Linked DNA regions of Homo sapiens: all the other regions are linked to region 7. The links are contacts of gene promoters, found by promoter capture Hi-C in blood cells and fetal thymus (Javierre and others, 2016). All regions are on one chromosome and are shown on one strand. Each heading gives the region's core, a stretch centred on a gene start or on the middle of the fragment in contact. The rest is flanking DNA. Distances are from core to core; before and after follow the strand shown. Region 1 holds the start of ESD (esterase D). Region 2 holds the start of RCBTB1 (RCC1 and BTB domain containing protein 1). Region 3 holds the start of LRCH1 (leucine rich repeats and calponin homology domain containing 1). Region 4 holds the start of ZC3H13 (zinc finger CCCH-type containing 13). Region 5 holds the start of PHF11 (PHD finger protein 11). Region 6 holds the start of CDADC1 (cytidine and dCMP deaminase domain containing 1). Region 7 holds the start of NUDT15 (nudix hydrolase 15).

The links. Contacts are between HindIII fragments. The CHiCAGO score rates a contact against its expected background, and 5 or more counts as called.
Region 1: a contact is called between the fragment with the promoter of ESD here and the fragment with the promoter of NUDT15 in region 7, in 16 of 17 cell types (M2 macrophages, erythroblasts, M0 macrophages and 13 more). The highest score is 31.5, in M2 macrophages.
Region 2: a contact is called between the fragment with the promoter of RCBTB1 here and the fragment with the promoter of NUDT15 in region 7, in 7 of 17 cell types (fetal thymus, total CD4 T cells, non-activated CD4 T cells and 4 more). The highest score is 9.5, in fetal thymus.
Region 3: a contact is called between the fragment with the promoter of LRCH1 here and the fragment with the promoter of NUDT15 in region 7, in 14 of 17 cell types (naive CD8 T cells, activated CD4 T cells, erythroblasts and 11 more). The highest score is 18.5, in naive CD8 T cells.
Region 4: the fragment with the promoter of ZC3H13 here is called in contact with the fragment with the promoter of NUDT15 in region 7 in 9 of 17 cell types (total B cells, naive CD8 T cells, fetal thymus and 6 more); the score reaches 15.1 in total B cells.
Region 5: the fragment with the promoter of PHF11 here is called in contact with the fragment with the promoter of NUDT15 in region 7 in 10 of 17 cell types (non-activated CD4 T cells, activated CD4 T cells, neutrophils and 7 more); the score reaches 21.8 in non-activated CD4 T cells.
Region 6: the fragment with the promoter of CDADC1 here is called in contact with the fragment with the promoter of NUDT15 in region 7 in 11 of 17 cell types (total CD8 T cells, monocytes, non-activated CD4 T cells and 8 more); the score reaches 13.9 in total CD8 T cells.

What each region holds. Positions count from the first base shown.
Region 1 is chr13:46,795,298-46,798,854 of GRCh38, forward strand. ESD (esterase D) reads right to left here and starts at 1,864. Exons shown (of 10, transcript NM_001984.2): 1 at 1,808-1,864. RefSeq lists enhancers at 999-1,600, 1,732-1,781 and a silencer at 1,372-1,421. The HindIII fragment of the contact is 4,378 bases long and covers 1-3,557 here.
Region 2 is chr13:49,583,529-49,587,014 of GRCh38, forward strand. RCBTB1 (RCC1 and BTB domain containing protein 1) reads right to left here and starts at 2,030. Exons shown (of 13, transcript NM_018191.4): 1 at 1,916-2,030. RefSeq lists a silencer at 1,554-2,263. The HindIII fragment of the contact is 4,185 bases long and covers 645-3,486 here.
Region 3 is chr13:46,551,853-46,555,386 of GRCh38, forward strand. LRCH1 (leucine rich repeats and calponin homology domain containing 1) reads left to right here and starts at 1,318. Exons shown (of 20, transcript NM_001164211.2): 1 at 1,318-1,851. The coding sequence starts at 1,545. RefSeq lists silencers at 1,262-1,451, 1,512-1,571 and enhancers at 1,775-2,475, 2,132-2,451. The HindIII fragment of the contact is 3,547 bases long and covers 163-3,534 here.
Region 4 is chr13:46,051,281-46,054,428 of GRCh38, forward strand. ZC3H13 (zinc finger CCCH-type containing 13) reads right to left here and starts at 1,466. Exons shown (of 19, transcript NM_001330564.2): 1 at 1,124-1,466. It overlaps CPB2 (carboxypeptidase B2), which reads right to left. Exons shown (of 11, transcript NM_001872.5): 11 at 1,906-2,518. The coding sequence ends at 2,334. CPB2-AS1 (CPB2 antisense RNA 1) reads left to right here and starts at 1,568. Exons shown (of 3, transcript NR_046227.1): 1 at 1,568-1,685. RefSeq lists enhancers at 650-1,186, 1,187-1,722, 1,252-1,421, 1,432-1,631. The HindIII fragment of the contact is 2,282 bases long and covers 100-2,381 here.
Region 5 is chr13:49,494,553-49,497,879 of GRCh38, forward strand. It overlaps PHF11 (PHD finger protein 11), which reads left to right and starts at 1,401. Exons shown (of 10, transcript NM_001040443.3): 1 at 1,401-1,543. The coding sequence starts at 1,450. All of the region lies in intron 12 of SETDB2-PHF11 (SETDB2-PHF11 readthrough), which reads left to right. It overlaps SETDB2 (SET domain bifurcated histone lysine methyltransferase 2), which reads left to right. Exons shown (of 14, transcript NM_001160308.3): 14 at 1-451. RefSeq lists enhancers at 207-892, 1,203-1,442, 1,933-1,982 and a silencer at 1,463-1,742. The HindIII fragment of the contact is 2,314 bases long and covers 1-2,245 here.
Region 6 is chr13:49,246,093-49,249,295 of GRCh38, forward strand. It overlaps CDADC1 (cytidine and dCMP deaminase domain containing 1), which reads left to right and starts at 1,833. Exons shown (of 10, transcript NM_030911.4): 1 at 1,833-2,027; 2 at 2,779-2,873. The coding sequence starts at 1,946. It overlaps LOC105370203 (a long non-coding RNA gene), which reads right to left and starts at 1,748. Exons shown (of 2, transcript NR_135318.1): 1 at 1,543-1,748. RefSeq lists enhancers at 1,694-2,256, 1,726-1,955. The HindIII fragment of the contact is 642 bases long and covers 1,806-2,447 here.
Region 7 is chr13:48,036,097-48,039,348 of GRCh38, forward strand. It overlaps NUDT15 (nudix hydrolase 15), which reads left to right and starts at 1,630. Exons shown (of 3, transcript NM_018283.4): 1 at 1,630-1,808. The coding sequence starts at 1,651. It overlaps LOC124903172 (a long non-coding RNA gene), which reads right to left and starts at 1,896. Exons shown (of 2, transcript XR_007063788.1): 1 at 1,510-1,896. RefSeq lists enhancers at 758-1,634, 1,635-2,510, 1,677-1,916, 1,967-2,126. The HindIII fragment of the contact is 6,950 bases long and covers 595-3,252 here.

The DNA.
Region 1 (3,557 bases), core at 614-3,113, 1.2 Mb before region 7:
ATCCCTACCAACAGCTCATCTGCAGCCTAATACGGCCTACGTGGAATTGTTAGTCATTTTTATTTAGTATTTTAAAAACTGTGATAAAAACACATACATAATATTTACTATCTTAACCATTCCTAAGTGTGTATTTCAGTAGTGTTAAGTATCCATTAGTCATATGTAAAAACGCAGTTCGCCAGCTCACAATAATGAGCAGATGAGAACTGCCTCATCACCCCCTGGCTGCTGCAGGTGGAGACTACTAATCCCTTTCGCTGTTAGGCCAGTCGCTGAGAACCAGAAAGTCACTGAAATGGAAGACCATGTTAATTGTACAATTTTCTTCAAGTTTAATGCCATTAAAATTTCATAAAATTAAAACCATGCAGGATCACTGAAAAAATAGATGAATAAAACTCCATATAAACTTCAGTCACACTCTACCTGTGTGCAAACACAGTCTTTTTTTTCTTCTTTTTTTTTTTTTTGAGACAGGGTCAAACTCTGTGGCCCAGATTGGAGTGCAGTGGCCTGATCTCGGCTCACTGCAATCATCTCGGCCCCCGGGCTCAGGTGATCCTCCCGCCTCAGCCTCTGGAGTAGTTGGGACCACAGGTGGCACCACCATGCCCAGGTAATTTTTTGTAGAGGAGGTTTTGCCATGCTGCCTAGGCTGGGTCTCTTTTCCTTCATAAAAATTCACATGGCTTGCCTAGGTAAGGATTTCTATTAAACTCTGGGGAAAATTTTTTAAAAAAAATATAGCATCTATAAACGCCAAACACCTTCACATGGCTCTAAATATGGTCTATAATTTGGTCCCAGATTATTTTTCTGGTCTCACTCCCTATTTTGTTAGTTAAACTCAACTATGCATAATTCTAGGATGGCCTGGATGTTGCTATCGGGTGGCTTTACTCAATGCCACGGTACAATGGTTTCAGAGCAGGTTTTGGGGCCAGACCCTCCGGGTTCAAACCCTGACTTCACCACTTATTACTACATGACACTGGGCAAGCTAATCTATGCCTCATTTGCCCATCTGCAAAATGGGTATACAGTAATATATATCAATTTGATAGGGTTGCTCTGGGAATTAAATGAGTTAATTCACGTAGTGCTTAAAATGCTGCTTCTACCACACACACAAACATGAGCTATTATTTTTCCTGCAACCTGAATGCCCTCTCCTTCCAGGTGCGCTCAATCCCATTTCCCTAATGACCCCATCAGAAATGACTTCCAGTCCCCCACAGCGCTCTGAGAGCATTTTACGACCCGAACAGATTTTGTCAAACTCCAAAGACACGTGCTCCCCTCGGCACCATCAGGTGAGTGCTCCTGACCGCGCCATTGGCTCGTGCCCCGACGCGGACGCTGCCTAGAGCAGCAGGTCCACACTCCCCCGAACCAGGCGCCGGCGGCCGCTAGTAACGCGTTGAGGCCAGCTCCCTCCTTAAAATGCGTACACATCTACTTCACATTTTCGCGCGGTGGCTGCGGGTCTAGGAAAGTCTTTCTGAACAGGAAAAAGCTGTACAAATGTAGCGGGCAGTAGGTAAACGGGCGCTCGCCCCGGGTTACACTAGGTTGGAGGCTCAGAGAAGGAAAAGGGATTAGAGGCGAGGCTCCGGGTCACGGGAAAAGGTCCTTGGCCTCCTGTCATGGATGGTGGCGCCCAAGGCCCAGGGTCGCCGTCTCTGCGCTCGTGCCTGCGGATACCTGCACCGCAGGACTCGGCGTCCGCCCCGATCACGCCTAGCCGTGCCGCAGCCGCAGGAAGGCTGACAACGTCCAGGCCTCTACCCGAACCCAGTCTTACCTACGGTGGCGGAGTGACCAGAAGAAGCGGGCCGAAGTAAAAGGCGGGGCTCAAGATGGCCGCCGGGGCCTCGCCTCAGCCCCGCCCATATGATGCCCCGCCCCTCCGGTCCCACTCACTCTCGCTTTTAACTCCGAGAACCCGCTCTTCTCCAGTTCAGTCTCCATGGCCCCGCCGCCTTTGCACATTGCACTTCCCGGCAGCCTCCGCGTGGGCGCCCCCTCCAACTCCTGCCTTCGCCCGCGTTTCTGCTCTGTGTGGTTACTAGGACCAACGAGGAGGGCGTTAGGTTAGTCCCTGTCACCTTGTCGGGGATCAGTCTGCTGTGCGTGCTCAGACTCTTCCCAGAGCCAGCAGCAAGAACCCGAGGCATTAATAAACTTGAGATGTAGCTTCGCTTAACTCGTGCAGAGGGTTTCCGTGTCACTTATGTAGAAACTAGGGCCTAATTTCAACTCCCTCAACTCCTCTGTCCCAAGACTATCCACGTCACCTACTTGGTAGCTTGAGTTAAACAAGAAACCTTTGAAATCTCCAGTGGCCGACACGCAGTGGGAACTCCATCAGTTTTCTGTTTTCTCCCTTCTTCCCTCAATAAAAATTAAGTTGAACTGACTAAGATTTGCTAGTTGATAATTTACAGCAAATCTTTCCTTTTGGTCTCTCTGATTTAAGCAAACTGTTGAGTGTACTTTGCCTCTTGAGAAATTAAATCTGATTACAACAGAGCTAAGTATTTTTCAGCAACGGTTAGACTGACATTGTAAATACACAATCTGATAGTTGGGGCTGGCCTCATGGGCCTGCAACCTGTGCTATTACCCGGCCCCCAGAACAGAAGGACGCTACATTTTCTCTCAGTAAGTGTTGAACCAGGGCCCCACGTTTGTGTCTGGAATTGGGCCCTGCAAATTGTGTAGCTATGGGAGCTGACTTAAGTATGGATGAGCTGCCACACAAGAGATTACCTGCCAGAATCTATTGTGTGGCTCAGGCCCATTTTGCCATAGTGATCTTTGGACTAAATTAACCTGTGGACTGAACCTGTGGATCAATTGGAACTTAGACTGAAAATAATGTTTCATCAAAATAATGTTTTTATTTTGAGAAAGCATTGAAGTAAATTGTTTTAAACTTTCTTTTTACTATCTTTAAGTATAAATCATTGAAAAGGGGATTTTCTTCAGTTTCAAAACTGAAACAGAATAAATACCTAAATTGCAAGTTCTTTATAACTGATGTTTGAACAAAGAGAAATAATTGATTAAATGATATATTTGCCTAATAAGTGGACTGCTGTGAGGTGCAGACTAGCCAAAGAACTGTAAGTGTGAAGTTCTTTACTAAAGGGTTCTTGTGTGAATACAATGTGAGAATAAGCAGAACTAAAATTTCTTTTACCCAGCATAAATAAAATGTTAATAGATCCACAAAAGTCGATTGCTTAAAAATATTAAGAATATATATAATTATCATTATTATTTGGACATGGAAGCAAAGAAGGCTGAAATCAGAAATTAAGGTTGACATTTTAAAAAATGGCACTACCAATAAAAATGGATGAATATTAAGTACACAAAGAAATAGTCCAAAAATTATGTGTAAATGTGTGGCTGAGAGGATATAGGACTCTTGGTTTGAACTAAAATGAGTAGGAATATAATCTTAAGGAGGCAATAAAGGGATGCAATAAAAATGAGAAAAAGTCAAATATACTTGAAGCCTGTAAGAAAAGAGATTGTTTTAGTCA
Region 2 (3,486 bases), core at 780-3,279, 1.5 Mb after region 7:
TCTTCAGCACGTACACAACATGTACTTTTTTTTTTTGAGATGGAGTCTCACTGTGTCGCCCAGGCTGGAGTGCAGTGGCACAATCTCGGCTCACTGCAACCTCTGCCTCCCCAGGTCAGGTAATTCTCGTACCTCAGCCTCCTGAGTAGCTGGGACTACAGGCGCACACCACCACGCCCAGCTAATTTTTTGTATTTTTAGTAGAGACGGGGTTTCACCATGTTGGCCAAGCTGGTCTTGAACTCCTGGCCTCGTGTAATCTGTCGCCTCAATCTCCCAAAATGCTGGGATTACAGATGTAAGCCACTGCGCCTGGCCAATATGTAACATTTTTAACTTTTTGTAAAACCAGAGAATATTTTGAAATGTGTCCGAATGCCCTGCCTAGATTCTAGACTCTGTGAGGCCCCAGCCTCCTTTCCTATGCATGACTTACTGTTTAATGTAGTACACACAGAAGGGATATCATCATCATAATAAAGGTCCTCACTTTCCTTCACAGTTTCATCTACCCCACAATGACTCCCAGGAAAAGGAGGGTACTGTTTCAGACTTCCCAGCTCCCGTATATTAGGTGGAGCCAAGTTCTTGCTGCAGCATACGGGCACGCTTTAAAATTTTCAAATCATTTTTTAAAAGCTACAAGCTTGACAGCTTTGGGTTTTTATGGCTACTTGTTTTCTGAAGTTCACAGAACTTTATCATTTGGATCACACACTTAAAAAAATCACTTGCAAAAATCTCTTTAAAGATGAATATGCTTCCTCTTCAAGAGAAACAGACTAGCGGGTAGAAGAAAAAGGACCCGTCTAGAGTATTAATAAATAGACTGATATTCACACAATGGATTAAATGGATTAAAGTCCATCCCACAGATGAACTGTTATATTAATAGAATCCAAATATACAGTTACATCCTCGACCCTGAAAGCAGTTTAAACGGGTGAAATTCACCCAGTGCTCACTTGAAATGAGTACTCTAAAGTTTAAAGCACCTATAAACTGCCCTCAGGATTCAATCATTTTTCCATTCCTTCCGGCATTATATACTTTGATGTTTTAATGTTATTAGCCCACAATACACACCAGTTTCAGAAACTCAGTTTTTGTCCTCTAAGGGCTTTTAGTCCTCCCAAAAAAAGAATAGGGCAAAAGCAAGGAAGATCATGAATCTGGTTTTCTAAAAGCATTATTACAAGACTGCTTTATAAAATTGTAATCCCCAGCTGCAGAGTTCCGCAGATGGCTTGAAAGTGTCTTACATGCAAATAAATAAAAACAAAAGGCCACTTATGCGAGCAGAACACAGCGTGCTCGATAGTCATCTTAAACCGAGCAGGTAGGTACTTTATCAGAGGCAGACAAGGGAAACGTCACTTATTTAGAGTTCACCGCACGCCTGGATAAAAGTCCTCACTAACAAAATCCCTGCCTTTGTGGATTCTGTGTCGGAAAGGGAAACGATAAAGAATACGGTTTGTGACAGCACTACTCTCAGGAGACGAAGGAGAGATGCTAAGATCTTGGAAAGGAGAGAGAATAGGAAGAGTCGGAGGGGAGATCTCCTCTCAGTAAAACGGCACCCACAGCAGTCAGACTTCAGCTACGAGCAAAATCGAGTCCGTGCACCTCAAAAAAGAGAGGGAGGCAGGGAAAACTTTCCCTCGCCTCTCCCCATCCTTCCCTCCTCCTCGCAGGAGAGCACATTAGCTGAGGTGCTGGCGGGGCCGGGCCGGGGACCCCATCCCTCGCCCCGGACGCAGCGCCCGCAGGGACTGCCCGGGAGCCCGAGCGAGGGAGGCGGGAGGTACAGGAGTAACGGGGCACTCCCGGCCCGGCCTGCGGGGAAGGGAAGCAGGGGCAGGGCCGAGGGGGAAGAGGCCTCCGCGAGCTCGACCCCGCGCCCACACGCTACCTGCGAGGTCAGCTGCTGCCGCGCCGTCCCGCGGGACCGCAGGGATCTCCGAAGCTCCAATGGGCGCAGAAGTGCGAGCGAGCGGCGGTGCCCACCGGCAGCGAAGAGGAGGAGCGCCAGGGCGCCGGGCCCGCCGGGTCACGTGGCCCCGGCCGCCTCACGTGACCCGGTGCAGCGCGCGCCCGGGACGCTACCCAGCCGAGCATCCCGCACCGCCCCGGCCCCGGCCCCGGCCGAAACCCTGCTCTTCGGGCCCTACAACCCGACTTCTTTAGAAGCCGATTGGCCGTCTCAGGCCCGCCCCGAGGCCCTGCCACTGGAGTGTCCCCATGAAATCCGGTGGCTGCTGCCGGGACTTAGAGGCTTTTGTGTCTGAGGAACCAGGAACGCGCGAGGCACGGGCTCCTGCTCTGCTCCCCGAGATGGCTTGGCTGTGGGGAGGGTCGGCCTACCACCCCAGAGACCTAGGACGGAAAAGCGACCGAGAAACTTGGCTCCCTGCCCACTCTAGAGCGCGTCTGGCCCCGGGGCACCACCCAGGTGGTGCTGCCTGGGAGGAAAGGCGGCGGAGCTGGGACTAGTTTGTTTTTACTGGAGACGCGCCTCCCTCCCTCCCCGCCCCTCACTTCCTGATTGAAAGTACCTGAGGCAGGCCAGGGACTAGGGAAGGTGGCAGCTGGACAAAGGTATGAAGGAAGGACGAGATGAGGCACAGGTCCTGGTATTGGAAAGAGGCAGAGGTACCTCGGAAGCATGCCATAGAGGTTAGACGGGACCTAAGAGGGCATCTGGTCCAACCGGATTCGTGTTACCAGCGAGTAAACTGAGGCCAGGAGAGGGACTGCTACGAGCTGCTCCAGCCTATCACCTATAAAGACTACAGTCCCTTTGTAAAATACCATACAGCTCTCGGAGAACTCCCAGTTGGCGCTGCAGGATAAAATCCAAACTTGTTGGCATAGCATTCCAGCCACTTGTTCACTTACCTTTCCCATTTGAGCTCCTAGGAATAAACAGAAAAACATTTCATTTTCTAAATATCACCAGATAACTTCACTTTTGGTAACTTGAATTATTAAAAAAGTCCTACCGTCCCTCATCTCTTGCCACTTCCCCAACATTACTGGAGGCTCTGGCTACAAATAATTTGTTTTCCTTGACTACTCAACTTTCTTTGGATTATTTACTTTTTCTCTAAGTTTCTTTACTCCTTTTTGCTTTGTTCATTCTTTTGTCTGTATCTGAAATGTCCTGAATCACCACCTCCCCCACTTAAAGAAAACCAGGGCCAATGATTAAAAAAAAAAAAAAAGGTATTAAGAAACTAATGCAATAAGAGAATTGAGCTTAGTTCTGTATCTATTCTGAGGTCTCGCTCCTGTTGCACTAGTTCCTGAATAAAATGTTTTTACCACTTCAACTACTGTTTGGCTCTGGTTTTCTTCAACAGCCTCCAAAGTACACATCAGTTTCCTACTCATCTTTCAAAATCCAGGTCAAATGCCGCCTACTCTTGTCTTCCCAGCATCCTCTTCCCTGATTTTTTAGCAATTGAAGTTCATCCAGACAGT
Region 3 (3,534 bases), core at 68-2,567, 1.5 Mb before region 7:
AACCAGCTCCCCTACTCCAAGGGTTGCATTACTTTCGTGCTTGACACCCCGACAACCCCGCACCCACCCCCCGACTCATTTTCCCCAAGCCAAGTCGCTCATAGGGGACAATCAAGCCTTAAGAATAGAGCAAAAATAAAGGCCCTGGAAAGTTGGACATGAAGCTTTAACTTCAGGAAAGGAATGGTATTCTATTAATCGTCCAGCTGGTCTGCCCTTAGGGTGTCAGATGTTCTCTGTCGCCCCTGGTGTGCCAGCATTGGCCTGGGTGCCACTGGGTGGCTGATGGCAGAATGTGAATTCACTTGCAAGCGGACATGTTCGTTTCCATGCCCCAAAGCGGGAAGAAGAAGGGCACAAGGAGACTTCGATGGTTCTTTCAGCTCAGACTCGAGCTGTGACTGATTTGCTGTTTGGGGTCACTGGCTTTCTAGCCTCTCCTGGCACCACCCAATTTCGGGGAGCAGCCAGCTCATCTTTCTCCTACGACAATGTCTTCTGTCCCCCATAAACACTGCCCTCATTTTGAGTTTTTCTTTCCTATGTCTGTAGCTTTCTTCTGCCGCTCAGCAAACACTCTGTCCCACTCGTATTCGTCCCTTGGCGCTGGCGTCTGGCCCAGGGGTACACTGTGAAGGAGGGCAACCCTAGATTCTGAGGGCCCTAGCTCGAATCTAGCGCCCCTCTAACTGCAGGGGTGACCTTAGATACATTTATTAACTTCCTCTGTAGACTCAGGGGAACAACTTTGGCACTCCTGGGGTCCCTGGATTAATGAGGTAACTTACGTAGACTCCCTAAACAAGCGTCTGGTTCATTGTAAGCGCCCAAATGCCAGGGGGCATCTGCAGGGATGACCCCATAGTGAATGAAAACTGCCTCTTGGGGATCTCTGGGTTAAACGGCCAGAATAAATCGCAGAATTGAGAGAACCCTCTCCTGCCCCAAACCTCACTGTACTGTAAATCCCATTCATTGCCTCCCGCCGTTTTATCCGTGTTCTCAGACCACCCCCCTATCCCCGCAACCTCCAGTCCCCTAAAGCCTCCTGGGCGGCAAAAGGACGCCCAGAGAGAGGTTCGGCGCCTCAGTTGCCCCGGAGCAGACGTCCAGCCCCGCCGTGTACCCGATTGCGGGGCGGATCGCGGCAAGGCGGCGGCGGCCGGCAGAATAGGCGCGGAGGAAGGCTCAGGCGGGGCAGACTGCGTGGGGGAAGGAGGAGGAGAGAGCAGACGGCGGAGGAGGGCAGAGCAGCCGGGGGGAGGGCGCAGGGGCGGGAGGAGACACATGCGCGCTGCCGCCGCCGCCGCCGCCGCCGCAGTCCTTAGCTTCCCGGGGACAGGAAACCTTCAAGACCGAGCTGCCACGGCCGCCTCCCCGCCCGCCCCCCATTCTACGCGCCTGCCCACACCCTCCTCCCCTCCTTCCAGCGCCTTTCGGTGGAGCACTGCGGCACTCAGCCCGAGCTGCCGTTTTCCCCTCGCGGGGAACGCTGTGACCCCCCCGCAGGAGCGGCGGGGCGGGGTGGGGGGGCCCGGGAGAAGATGGCGACGCCGGGAAGCGAACCCCAACCTTTCGTCCCGGCCCTTTCGGTAGCTACTCTGCACCCACTTCATCATCCCCACCACCACCACCACCACCATCAGCACCACGGAGGAACCGGCGCCCCCGGCGGGGCGGGTGGTGGCGGCGGTGGCAGCGGGGGCTTCAACCTGCCCTTGAACCGGGGTCTGGAGCGCGCGCTTGAGGAGGCGGCCAACTCCGGGGGGCTGAACCTGAGCGCCAGGAAATTGAAGGAATTTCCCCGTACCGCAGCCCCCGGGCACGACCTCTCGGACACGGTGCAGGCAGGTGAGTGAGGGCCGAGGGGCGGGCAGGGGTGTGGGTGCTGTCTGGGTGTCTGTCGTGCGTTCCCTAACGCGGTGGACAGTCGGAGATCTTGTCTTGCTGGGGGAGGGAGGGTCCATCGGCCCGTTGTCTCCCGAAGAAGGGACTCGCGTGGGCGCGGAAGAAGCGGGCCCTGGAGAGGGCACGGGGGCCCTGCCTGGTCCGGCGATGCAGTGCCAGGAGGGCAGGGGTGCGCCGGGCCTCTGCGCCTGAGAGCGAGGGGTCTCCGGCTCTCCACCCTGTGGCTGCCGCGCCAGGGAAGTAACCGCGGGGCTGGGACTTGCAGGCGCGCCGCGTGCGCGCAGTGTAAGTGGGAGGTTTCAGGCGGCTGTGTCGGCTTCCTGGGCCCCGCGCAGGGCTGGGAACTCCAGCGCGGACAGCGGCGTCGGCGCCTCCAACCAGTTCAAGCCGTCTTTGCATCGAGGCGTAGCCCATCCTGGTGGGGAAACCCAGACAAAGGTGGCACGCCCTCGGCCGAGCCAGGGGCATCGGCGCAGTGCCGCGAGCCCCCTCGGCGACATCGCCGAGCGATCGGGCAACTCGGTGCCGCCTGTGAGGTGCCCAAGTTTCCTCTCCCTGCGCTTGTGCGGGAAAAGAGCCGCCGGGCTTGTAGTGAATCCCAGTCGGCTGCCGCTTCGGAAGCGATCGGCCCTCTTCCTTCCGTGCCTTTTGCTCACCGCCCACACAGTTTGGGTCCTACCACCGAGGCTACCTGGTTCTCAGTTACCCAACCGTTGCGGGGGCCCCAGGAAAGGACGGCGTGGCATATTAAAGGCAAAGTAATTAACGTGAGCCTGTTTTCCTGTGTGAGCCCGGCAAGTTGTAACTCGCGCCAATAAGCAGCATAACTTTTTCAAGTTACGTCATGTGTTACATACTTCTAAAACGTCTGCTTTCTCTTTGGTAGTTGGAGTTCCAGGAGCGGGATCTATAAACAGGAAGGAGGGTGGTGGAATAGGATTGGGGCCTTAGGGTCTATACAGAACTGACTTGGTTTCCGGCCATCCGGTTCCGCTCCCTGGGGGAGGGTTTGTGTCATAGCAAGCGCCCAACATTTCCCAGGGCAGTGGGTGCTCCGTTTTGGAGCCGCTGCCCAGACCTCTTGGCTGTCATCGCCTCATGGCCCAGGGTCAGACCCCCTGGGTCTTGGATGGGTTGACTCTCATCACAGGAGCACCCAGTTTAATCTTGTAGTGGGCAAGGGAGCAGGCAGTGGGTTTTTGGAGGCTAGGTTTCCAGTGTCTTTTCCCCCTTTTAATTCAATAAACATTTATCTAGAGCCTTAATGAATATTTAGATACAGTTCTGAGTTCACTGGAGGCAAAGATGGCTCTCCAGGGTCATTAAACTTTGTAATTTGGATTTAGGGATAGTCAGGAATCGGCAAAAAAGAGGGAATTTCCAAAGTTGAGCTGTCAACAGCTGGGGAGTGTCTTTCAATAAGACCTCTTAGTTACATCTTCTCAAGTGGAACTTATTCCAAGAATTGCCTGAATCACTGACTTAAAAAACTACATTAAATTTTACTTCCCTTCTGCTATAGAGTGTACCGTGAGCTAGCTATGCTATGGTTGGCTATATCTGCAGAAAATAGAGCTGGCATGACTAATAATAATAGGTTTGTGTAGTTCAGTAAGGGGGCTTCAT
Region 4 (3,148 bases), core at 216-2,715, 2.0 Mb before region 7:
GTAAGAGGCATACATTTGATAAAACTGAATCCTACCAGATGCACAGAGTGAAAGCCTTAGTTTCAGAGTGCAACTATTTTTAAAGCCGCAATTGTTACAAGCTTGCATCAACTTTGCTAGTCTCTAGTTGAAACTGTCATCTGTTATAATCTAAATAGTTCATTAAGAAAATAAAAATTATTTGAAAATCTATAGATTGTATTCACAAAACGCTCCAATATATTGTACTAAAGCCAGTAATTTCAAATGTTACAGAACTAGACCCCGCTAACTGGCACCATATACCCATAGACTGAACTGCATAAGTATTTATTCTCCAACGGTATCGCGGACTTCGAAAACTTGAGGTGTAAAGATGTTTTCCAAATTTTTAAAACTACTTTAAAAATCCAAAAATCTTAAGAGACTTCATACTCCCATAATTTTCAAAGTAGTTCGAATTACCTGAAAGCCCCATAGTATAACCAAATACCTTAAGACTACCCTTCACAAACAACATCTTACCAACATAATTCAAGTATTATCAACTCTAAATAATTTTCAAACCACATAAATTGCGTTAGCCTATTACAGAGAGATAATGCCGCCAAACAGACTCTCTTCTTTCTATTCCACTTTCCCCCGTTTCTGACAGTTGCCAAAACTACCTACCTAAGGCTTGTGAAGATAAAGTAGCACTCAATTCCCAGGACCTAAATCGTTATCACTGCTGAGGGAAAAAAAAAAAAACAAGACCAATCACAAGTAAGATGTTTTTCTCTAACAGATCTGGAATGAGTATAGAGGAAGATTCTAAATTTAAGCCCAAATTGCTGCACCCTTCCATCGCACACAAATACGAACACCATACAAGGGTTCCCGTGCTTACATCAAATGGTAACGAGGGGTACAGCCTATTGTCTGAGTCTACTTATCGCCCTTAGACAAATGCCAGAATCATAATCAGAGTGAGAAATTACGCCTGAGCACAGGGGGCTATTGCAGAGTTAAGGGTGGGATGCTCAAGGAAAGCTCAAAATCCCAGTGACTCAAGCAAAGACGGGGGGGGGTAACCCGGGCCTCCGCATTACGGGTCCGCTCAATGCCTTCCCCAGATACCCACACCAATTCACAGAACGCTTACTTCCTCCCCAAGCTCCCTTCGCAAGTGCAGTCCGGAGGCACCACCGCCGCCGCCGCTCCGAGGAGCGGGGGAGGCGACTCTGTCCCCGCGCCTGGACCCAGGAGGACGACGACGAGGAGAAAGCGATGCGCGCGCGGCTCCCGGGAACCGGCTCTTGGCTAGCGAGGAGCCCCCGGGATGGCTGAGAAGCAGAACCAACCCGCCCGCCGCCTCTCCAGGGTCAAGCGAAACTGGGTCGCAGGAAGAAAAATAACGAAGAGATTGTAGATTAAGAAAAGGCAACAAAAACACTACCAGGCCGCTAGGAGGACCGCCTCAAAATGCCGCCGGAAGTCAGAGGTTTGCCCTGTTCCTCTGTAGACCCAGGCAGCTTCCGGCCGTCAGATTAGTCGTCAGTGCGCAGACACCACCCTTCGTGGACACGCCCTCTAGGCGTAAGGTTCCATGCGAGCGGTAAGAGTGCGGCGGGACTTGGAAATCGAATCTGTGCTCTGTGAGAGATCCTAGGAAAGGAAACTGGGAGCCCGGGAGAACTAAAATTCCCAATTAAAAGTGAATTTAAGTGAGTTTTCTCTTTTTATTACATAATTCCTTACCATAAACAGCTGTTGTAAATGCGCAAAATGCGGCATTTGTTGACAGTACCTAGAGCCACTCATTCATTCGTTCAACAGTGTTTATTGAGCAGCTGAGCTGGAATGAGAGGCTATGTTTGTCGTTTTTGACACCCCTCCCCTTTCTGGGCCATCGCCTAATTACCGTGGAGCAAACGGAATGCATGGTTGTATTTCTAAAGGCACAAGCAGAAATTTATTGAAAATTTGGAGCAGAAATCTTTAATGTACTTCTGACCACCCTTCCTTTTGTTGAGTAGGATCCAATGATCAGCGTGAGATGATCATTGATTAAACTTGCTTGAGATGGCTAGTCAAACGTCGAAACTTGCTTGAGATGGCTAGTCAAACGTCGAAAATCAAAGAAAAAGTAGGTAACTAGACTTTTACAATTTTTTTTAAAGGGTAAAAAGACATGAACCCTAGTCTGCCTTAATGGCAAAGTAGCACTTATTAGGTTCTCTGACAGAACCAAGGAATAGGAAAATCTTTTATCAAAACTACGGATAAAACTTAAAAATAATTTGATACAATGATTTGGTCTTGCTGGAATCAGTAAATTAAAATACGGAAGCAGAATGATAAAATCAGGGGCATTAAACATTCCTAATGACATGCCAAGCTATTTTAGAGACAGCGGCAAAAGCTTCTCTACAGGTGGGTTTGATGTAACGCTCCGGCAGCAAGAATCCGTATGTGCCCGTATCTCGAAGTTCAATTGTAAACGAATATTTGATGCCCAAATCATAGATCCAATCGTCCCCACCTCCAGGAGCTAGGTCTAAAAGAAGAAGAAAGAAATTGTTGAAATACAGACGTTTCAAATTAATTTACAAACTGGGAATTGTTTGATTTAAATGTTTATTTGTTTGTATACCTTTAGATTTTTTTCAGTTTTTAACTAATATAAACAACTTTACAATGAGTACCCTTGTTTATACATAATTGCTTCTTTGTCTCTTTAGAATATTCTTCCCTAGAATAGATTTGCTAGTCTAAGGCTCTGTACTTTTTGCAATTACGGCATGTTCCCAAATGGACGTCAAAAGAACTGAATTCATTTATACTTCCACAAGCAGGGTATGAATTTGCCCATTTCCCCTTCCCATACCATCAATAGGAATTATGAATTCTGATAATTTTATGGGCGAAAAATAATATCCAACTGTCTTAATTTATGTTTTTTGATTATCAGTGAGTTGCACATTTGTTTGGCATATTTATTGGCTATCTTTATATTTCCTATCAATTGTCCTTCCTCATTTGTCTACTTGGTTCATTTTATCAATTGCTTATAAAAACGACATTAGTGTTATTAGCTTTGTTTGGCATGTAGACCTTTTTTTCTCCTTTCATTCATTTCTCCTTTCACAAGAATTTTTTCTCCTTACTGAGATTTCAACTTGGTTTA
Region 5 (3,327 bases), core at 151-2,650, 1.5 Mb after region 7:
TGGGGAACACCCTAATGTCAGTCTCTTTATAAAGGGCCTTTCATTTTGGCCTGGCAAGAAATACTCTTTCATCCTCCTGCATGGAGGGCAAAAAAAAATTTAAAAATTGGCTGCTAGGGTCTGTCTGCTCACTTCCCTGTTTTGCAGACCCCACACTCTTCTGCAATTCATTTCATAGTTGTCAAGACTATACAAATTGTCCTTTTTAATGTTCTCTCTTCTGCTATCCCTAGTTGGCAGTCTTCCTCTTTACAACCTGCTGAAAGTGGAAGACCTCCAGTTTTCCTTTAATTCCTCAGCAAACCACCAACTATTATATGTCTTTTTTCCAGAACAACTTATTTTTTAACTATAATTATATGCATTTATGTTAGATTCACTGAAAACCTCATCTTGTATGGTGCTCTGTACCCTATGGGTGCTAAATAAAGGCTTGCTACTGGCAACTGGATTTAGGATCGGCTAATTCTGCGTCCTTTTAAGATATGCTTATTTAAGCCAAACTCGGTATGATAATTTTTTTTTTTTTTTTTTTTTTTTTGAGAGGGAGTCTGGCTCTGTCGCCTAGGCAGGAGTGCAGTGGCGCGATCTTGGCTCACTGCAACCCCCGCCTCCCGGGTTCAAGCGATTCTCCTGCCTCAGACTCCCGAGTAGCTGGGATTACAGGCGCCCGCCACCAAGCCCGGCTAATTTTTGTATTTTTAGTAGAGACGGGGTTTCACCATGTTGACCAGGCTGGTCTCGAACTCCTGACCTCGTGATTCGCCCACCTCGGCCTCCCAAAGTCCTGGAACTACAGGCGTGAGCCACCGCGCCCACCCGGCCAGTATGATAGTTTTTAGGAGGAACCCTCAGGAGAGTGATTGTTTCTCCCGCTGTGTTGTGGGGGGTGGAGTAGGGAAGCCTGGCGTTTGGGGTTTTTTTGTTTGTTTGTTTTTTGTGTGTGTTTGTTTGTTTGTTTGTTTTGAGACGGAGTCCCGCTCTGTAGCCCAGGCTGGAGTGTAGTGGCGCGATCTCGGCTCACTGCAAGCCCCGCCTCCCGATTCAAGCGATTCTCATGCCTCAGTGTCTGGAGTAGCTGGGATTACAGGCACCCGCCACCATGCCCAGCTAATTTTTGTATTTTTAGTAGAGACGGGGTTTCACCATGTTGGTTAGGCTGGTGTTGAACTCCTGACCTCGTGATCCGCCCTCCTCGGCCTCCCAAAGTGCTGGGATTACAGGCGTGAGCCACTGCTCCCGGCGTTTGGGTTTTTTAAGCTATTCAAATTAAGACTAGACTGGAATCTGGAGCAGTGTGTGTGACAACCCCTCTCTGCACACCCAACTTTCCCCGGGCCGGCTAGTGACTCAAAGCGACAGCCCAGATTTAAGAAAACGAAACCTAGTGCAGCTGGGGCACTTCCGGGATCTCGCTATCCGGCCGCCACCCGCAGCTGCAGCACAGTCATGGCCCAGGCGTCGCCGCCCCGGCCCGAGAGGGTGCTCGGCGCCAGCAGCCCGGAGGCCCGGCCCGCGCAGGAGGCGCTCCTCCTTCCCACCGGTGTGTACCGCGGGGGCGGGCGGGCGGGCGGGCGGGGCTGGGCAGCGACGGGCCCGGTCAAGGGGCCTGCCTTCCGGTCGTGGCCGCATGGGGGCCCGACCTGCCCCTACTCCGGGCCGGGGCCCTAGACGCCGGGGCGGCGCTGGACGAACTTGGCTCACCACTCGCGTGCCTGTTGGTGGGGGAGGGGGCCAGAGGACAGGGCGCGGCCCAGGCCAGTTCCACAGGTGGCTCTGACTGCCCATGGTTTCGCGCGAGTGGTGGGCACGCTTCGGTTTACCTCCCCCGCGGGTGACAGCCCAGTGCTTCCACCACAACCGATGTCAACTCTCCTAGCGCCCCTCCGCTCACCGGTAAACCAGGACAGTGGAGGGGCGCCCTGATGCGGTGAGGCAGGGGGCGGCCCTGAGGGAAGAGCTGGGTCTCACGTTCACGGAGGACGTGACTGGAACCCGTCTCCCCTTCTCCAGTCGTTCCAGTCCTCCCCGGCCCTCTACTTGAGTGGGTGGGTCTTCTGATGGGTTCCTGCCCTTGCGTGTGTGTATAGCTCCAAACGGTGTGCCAGGCTCAGGGCAAGGTCCTGAGCATACAAAGATGAGTTAGGCAGACCCTGCCCTAGAGACTCTACTAGGCAACTTTAATGAGGAGGTCAGAACCACAGAGGTACAGATGAGAGACTCCTGACTCCCAGTCTTCAGGGAAAGCTTTTTGAGGAGAGGATGGCTGGGCTTACCCTTTTTTTTTTTTTTTTTTTTTGAGAGGAGTTTCACTCTTGTTGCCCAGGCTGGAGTGCAAAGGCGCTATCTCGGCCCACTGCAACCTCTGCCTCCCGGGTTCAAGCGATTCTCCTGCCTCAGCCTCCCGAGTGGATGGGATTACAGGCATGTGCCACCACGCCCAGCTAATTTTGTATTTTTAGTAGAGAGGGTTTCTCCATGTTTCATGGGCTTACCTTTAAAGGGCAAGACTCAGCCAAAGGTGGAAAAGTTGAAGGGGTGTTCCCAGCAGAGAGGATGACACAAAGGCACCAAACCACAAAACGTCACACGTAAACATCATACGTGGCAACCACAAGCCAATCAGTTGGATATTTCATTCATTGGTATACATATGGACTGTAAGGTAAGTCACGGGAGATGCGCTTCCATCCTGACCTCTTCCTCAAACTCCAGACTGGTATAACCAACTTCTTCCATTTCTGAAATGATCTCAAACTGAGTATGTCCCAAAGAGAATTCTTGTTTCCTCCACTGTATTCAGGTACTCCAAACCTGCTCAACCACCAGCCCATTCCATTCGCCCAGGTGCTCCTTGCAAAAACCTTAGTGGCTCCTCAGGGCCTCTCTTTCCTCCGGACACCCCTTCTAATGCATCAGTCGGGCCAGCCAGTTCTGTGTTCAGCCTGACTGTATCTGGAGCCTGACTGCTTCTCACCACTTCCATTACTGCCACCCAAGCCTACGCCATCATGATCTTCTGTCTGGACTATTGCTTTCCTGGCTTCTATTCTAGCCTTTAATACAGGCAGGCCTGCAGAGCGGCCAAAATGCTTTTTGAAAAACAAAAAGCAAATGTGATTCTCCTACTCAAAACCCACCAATAGTCTCCCATGACTCTCAGAACAATCTATGAGCCTGGCCTGCAGTTTACCCCATGTCCTTATCTGATTTGACTCCTGCCCATCTTAATGACTCTGCTACCCTGCTACCTTGTAGGTCCTCTAAGCCACCAAAGCTGTCCCTGCCTCAGGATCTTTCCATTTGCTATTCTCTGCAAGGAAAACT
Region 6 (3,203 bases), core at 583-3,082, 1.2 Mb after region 7:
CGGGTTCAAGTGATTCTCCTGCCTAAGCCTCCTGAGTAGGTGGGACTACAGGTACATGCCACCACGCCTGGCTAATTTTTTGTATTTTTAGTAGAGACGGGGTTTCGCCATGTTGCCCAGGCTGATCTCAAACTCCTGACCTCATGATCCGCCCGCCTTGGCCTCCCAAAGTGCTGGGATTACAGGTGTGAGCCACCATGCCTGGCCTGTTTTCAGTTTTTGACTATTAAAAATAAAGCCACCATGACATTCATGTACAGAGTTTTGTTTGAACATAAGTTTTGGTTTGTCTAGGATAAATACCCAGGAGTGTGATTGCTGGGTGATATGATAAGCATATGTGCAACTTTATAAGAAACTGTCAAACTGTTTTCTAGAGTGGTTATGCCATTTTATAGTCCTACCAGCAATGTTTGAGAGATCCGGTTGCTCTGCATCCTCACTAGCATTTAGTGCTGTCAGTACTTGTTATTTTAGCCATTTAAATAGGTGTGTAGTAGAATCTCATTGTGGTTTTAATATACATTTCCCTAATGGCCAATGACACTGAACACTGTTTTACATGTTTATTTGCCATCTGTATATCTTCTTTGGTGAAATGACTATTCAAGTCTTTGATCCATTTTCTAACTGGACTGTTTACTTACTCTGAGTTTATATGGTTCTTTATATATTCTGGATATGAGTCCTTTGTTGGATACATGCTTTGCAAATATTTTCTCCTAGTCCATGGCCTGTCTTTAAACCTTAGTGTTAATTGCCATGAAGGCACTGTCAACAAAGTCTACACTTCAGGAAAGGTGCAGAATGGAGTTCTCTGGATATAGTCAAATCACCTGAAGAGCTTTACCCTCAGAACAGGCGAACTAGAAAAAATTCTACAAGCCAAAGAAATAAATAGCAAGCTGAAAGATAGATCTGAAGAAATTAGCCAGAATGTGGCTCAGAGAAACAAAATGATGCAATATTTTAAAAATAATAATTTAGAACCTCAGAAGGTTTAACCTATGCCTAATAGGAATTCCAGGAGGAGAGTCTAGAGTAATGTTGTCCAATACAGTAGTAGCCAATAGCCACATGTCACTACTTAAAATGTAAATTAATTAAAACTAAATGAAGTTAAAAATGCAGTTCCTTGGTTGTACTGGCCACATTTCAGATGCTCAATAGCCACATGTGGCTGGTGGCTACCATATTGGACAGTGCAGATATAGAATACTACAGGAAATCCTACTGGACAGTGCTGATCTAGGTCATAAAACAAGTCTGAACAAATTTCAAAGAACTGGTATGATACAGATGTTTTGTGGAAATAAACTAGACATTAGAAATTAAAAACAAAATAACTCCTACTGCCTCCTCTCACCTTTTTCCCCATTACAATTCCACCTCTTAATGTCTTCATGTTCTTGATGAGAAGCAGAACGTCCCTACTGTGTTCCATGGCACCAAGTTCCCCAGAACCCGCCAGTCTCTGATGACAGAACATCCTGGACCGCCCAGCTCCACACCCCAACCCAAGAAGTTCTCTAAAACACTGACCATGACAGCCTGGGGTAGGTTTCCACTTTAACATTCTGACCAAAATTCTCAACTCGATGCAGTCAGAGTCTGCGCAACCTGGGACCTCGAGCCAAGAAATCCTCAAGTGACCTTACTTGGCAAAACCAACAAAACAACCAAATACAGGTCTCAAGCGATTTACAGCTCGGTGCTTAACTCGGTCACCGGCCGAGGGGCAGCCCTCTGGCGCCAAAGCCCCGCCTCTCTATGACGTCACACGAGGAGCCCTGAAGTGGCGGTCAAGCTTGAGGCGTCATCTGGCTGCGCCTAGTGGGCCGTTGCCTTACAGTTGCTGAGAGGAGGCGAGAGGCGGGGGCGCTAGGGCCGAGATCATGTCTGACTGGGAGAGGTTTCCTTGGCAGCAGAGGACGCTAGGTTTGGGATGAAAGAAGCTGGGCAGATGCAAAATCTGGAGAGCGCGAGGGCCGGGCGGTCAGTCAGCACCCAGACTGGCAGCATGACCGGTGAGTGTCCGGGACCCTGCTCCCGCCACCCTACCTTTCGCTCTGCCCTGTGCGTCTCCCGTCATTGAACTCCAGATTCCTTGTCTGAGCCTCTTTGCCTCCCCTGCTGCTTTTGGATGTCTCCTGCCCGCCCTCTGCGTGTCCCCTCCGCGGTCGCCAGGACCAATCGGCTCGGTCGCACTGGCTTTTGAAGTCTCGCTTTTTACCCCTGTTAGCTACTTCTCACAGGACCTAGAGCTGGGGCCTCTGAGGTCAAAGAGCCTGAACATTTCCAAACGGCGCTTTTGCCTTGATTTCCAAATTAACCGCACGTGACGCTTTCCTGTATTTCGACTGCTTTACCGTCGAAGGTCAGCGCATTTTTCGGGTTGTGTTCTAATCGCTTTCCTTTTAGCAACGCCCCATCACAGTCCAAAGAAAAGCTTGCACCACGACGACGTCAGATGCGAAGACTTTTCACAGCTTGCTTTGGGTTGTCCCCCTCAGCTATGTGTATTAGCTGTACCGTTTTTTCCTGCAGGGTGAGGGCTGGAGAAAGAAGGCTCAACTTTTTAAGTGGAGAAGGAGGTAGCCACGACTAAGGCTGAAGCGTCTACTGCTAAGATACCTCTGACTCTCTTGTCCCCTATCTTTTTCTGTGCCTCTTGCGAAAGCAGCTGGGCTTAGGCTGCAGCACCTAAGTGGCATTGAGATTGGCTCCCTTTTTCACCATTAGTAACAAAGTTTAAAGTGTTTGTCGTCTCTTTTGTAGGTCAGATACCAAGGCTTTCTAAAGTCAACCTTTTCACTCTGCTCAGCCTCTGGATGGAGCTCTTTCCAGCAGAAGCCCAGCGGCAAAAATCTCAGGTATAATTTGTTTCATAGTTTTTCCCCTTAGAAAAGCAGTGGTTTAAAATCTGAGTTTATTGCTCCAGTTTCTGTCATACCTAAAACCAAACTTAACAAGGCTTAAGATTTAAAAAATATCTTTATTGATTAACATGACACTTTATAATTCCCAGCCGTAATAAGTCATCTTCCATTCTAAAAATACTTTCTGAGAATACCATGTTTATCGGGTACTAATGGTATTCATATGTCAGTTCGGCTAATAAGATTATTGTCTATACCACATAATTTCCCCCAATTATATATACTGTTGGTGTTTTATCTAGGTAGTTTACTCCTCTGCCACAG
Region 7 (3,252 bases), core at 380-2,879:
GAGGCTGCTCTCCTTGGCTTGTAGACGGCTGCCTTCTCCCTGTGTCATCATACAGTCTTCCAATAGAACACAGTCTGGGTTCTAATCTCTACTTCTTGCGAGGACACCAGTCATAACATTAGAATAGGGCCTACCCTAGTGGCTTCATTTTAACTTGATCCTGTCTCCAAATGCTGAGGTACTGGGGGATAGGACTTCGACATAGGAATTTTGAGGGGACACAATTCAGCTCAAAACAGTCATTAAATATGATGTTAGCTGTAGGTCTTTGTAGATGCCATATATCATGTTAAAGTTTCATTTTATTTCTAGTTTGCTCAGAGATTTTGTGGAGTTTTTTTAATCACAACTGAGTATCGGATTTTATTAATTTTTTTCTGCATCTATTGAGATGATTATATGTATTTCCTTTCTCCCTCTGTTAATATGCTGAATTACATTGGCTTTTCAAATATTAAGCCAACCTAGTATTTCTGGGATTAATCTCATTGTTCAATATATTATCCTTTTTATATACTACCATTTTTTGAGAAGATATTGTAAGTACCTTTGTAATGAATGTGAATGTTGATAGTGAGGAGAGATGCTGTGAAAAGCTTAATACCCATTTAGTATAACATGGAGAGTAAGCATATTACTTAGAAATAAGTAGGCAAATATCAGAAATACAGTTCAAAGAGTTAAAAGTGATTGTTTCTGAAAGTAGGAGGGTCAGGTTGCTCTTGTTGCGGTTTTTGCACCATTTTACTTCTTAAAATTATAGCTATAGGTCAGGCGCAGTGGTTCACGCCTGTTATCCCAGCACTCTGGTAGGCCCAAGTGGAAGGACTGCTTGAGGACAGGAGTTGGAGATCAGCCTCGACAAAAGACCGACAGCCCACCTCCACAAAAAAAAAAAAAAGAAAGAAAATTAGCTAGCTTGGTGAAAATTAAAATAAAATAAAATTACCAGTATGTGCACATTACTTTGGTAGAAGTAAAAATAATGAGAAAGAGAGAAAACCCTCCCAGTAACTAGTCATTTGTTTTTATGATTCAGCTGGTTTGTATTTTGCATGGTGCATGGTGTGCAAACATCTGAAAATGTCTGTTTTCCACTGTTTGTAACTAACTCTTCCCAGCATGATTTATCAATTAGCCTTTATTTCCTCCCATGACTTATGAATATACCTTAAGCATAGTTGTTTATAATGGGATGTTTCTAAACGACCTATCCTTATCCTGGTACCACGCTGATTTGAGCTACAGGGCAAATGGGTGCACCATGGTGGGCGAGGTCATTCACGGAAAAAAGAATGTGCAGTGGTGCCGAGGTTGGTAAGAGCAGGCGGCTTGTACATGTAAATGCATGGTTTGCAGGAATCTGGGAGTGGATAGGCTGACGGGTGATGAATATTCAAAGCACAACTGTAAGCGACTTTAGTTACAGCGAAACTCTAAGGCACGCTGCCCTTCGGAAGGAAACACGGCATTCCCCAACCTGATAGCCCTCCGCGACGCATTACGCACCGCGGACAGCTGGAGAGGCCGAGGCGCTCTCGCTTTGATTTCGGCGCCTCCGCCCTCGCGGGGAGAGATTGGCTGCGGCCGCGGGACGGGGTAGTGAGCGCGTCACTTCCTGCCGCTGCCAGGCGCGTCCTCCCGCGCGCTATGACGGCCAGCGCACAGCCGCGCGGGCGGCGGCCAGGAGTCGGAGTCGGAGTCGTGGTGACCAGCTGCAAGCATCCGCGTTGCGTCCTCCTGGGGAAGAGGAAAGGCTCGGTTGGAGCTGGCAGTTTCCAACTCCCTGGAGGTCATCTGGAGTTCGGGTGAGCAGCCGCGGACGCGAGGAAACCGGGGCGTGCGCAGAGGGACGAACTCACGCCGTGCTTGCTTCCGTGTGCCGTGCGTGAGAACGTCCGCGCTGACGCTGCGTCCTTTCTTGCGCGTTCCCTCGGTTCCTCCCCTCGACTTCTGGGCGACGTAGGATCGCGCCCAGGAGGGGGCGCTGTGCTGGGTCAGGCGAGGTCTTTGCTAGCTGGGTCTTTCCGGCTGCGCCCCTGCTGGGTGGTGGTTGGGAGTTCGTCTGTGAGGTGTGTTTCTCACAGCTTACACACAAAAGGAGGAAAGCAGGTGTGTGTAAACCTCCAGCAGCCCGATATTGTCAGCTAAGACATTGCACCGTTTCCATGTGATTGATTGATTGATCGATTGATTGATTTGAGACTGTGTCTCGCTCTGTAGCCCAGGCCAGAGTGCAGTGGTGCTATCTCCAGTCACTGCAACCTCCGCCTCCTGGGTTCAAGCGATTTTTGTGTCTCAGCCTCCTGGTAGCTGGGATTACAGGCGCCCGCTACCACGCCGTGCTAATTTTTGTATTTTTAGTAGAGACGGGGTTTCGCCATGTTGGCCAGGCTGGTCTCGAACTCCTGACCTCAGGTGATCCACCCGTGAGGTCAATGACCATAGCCAACATTGAGCTCTAATGGGCTTTTTGTTAAAGGCTGGATAATATGCCAAGCTCTTTGCATGTATACTTTCATTTGATCTTTACATAACTGGCATACTCAGTGGGCTAAATTTGATGGGAGAACAAACAGGAAATGGTTTTATTTTCTCCTTCCACTGCCTTCAAACATGATTTTTTCTTTCCCTCTTCAGTGACGTTTCCTGCAAATTCTATAGTTTTCTTGTCACTTGGTTATAAAAATAAATCACATTTGGGTCAGTATGATTCACTTCCAAGCATTTAAAAGTCCAATCCAATTTAAACCTTCAGTGTCACTTCCAGTTTCTAATCCCTCCCCTGCAGTGCATAAAGGAGGTGTGAGCCATTGTTCTGCTTTTCTGTATCCTCCTCCTCTTCTCACCTGGCTGTCTCTGAGTTTCCTTCTTTCTCCAGTGTGTTGGAGGAGGAGAGAGAGCAAGCCATTCAGGTGACTGATGCTGCTCTGATCCATCCATTGGTGTCCTCTGGGCATGATATCCACATGTGTGCTTTCTCAGGGTATGTTTGTCAGTTGTTGGGAAGTCCCACAGAGATTTTCCTGACATAGGTGACGGGCTTTCTGTGATGCTGGCCCACCTCCTAGCTCTTGCTTTTAGCACATCACCCCACATTTTCTTTCTACTGGGATCTCCTATTTGATTACCCAGCAGTCTCTTGTGGCATCTGCTTGGCCCAAAGGAAACACACAATGGGAATGATATTTCCACTGCTGCCCTTTTTCCTTGCTCTACCTCTGTATTCATCTGCATCTGGAAACTCCGAGG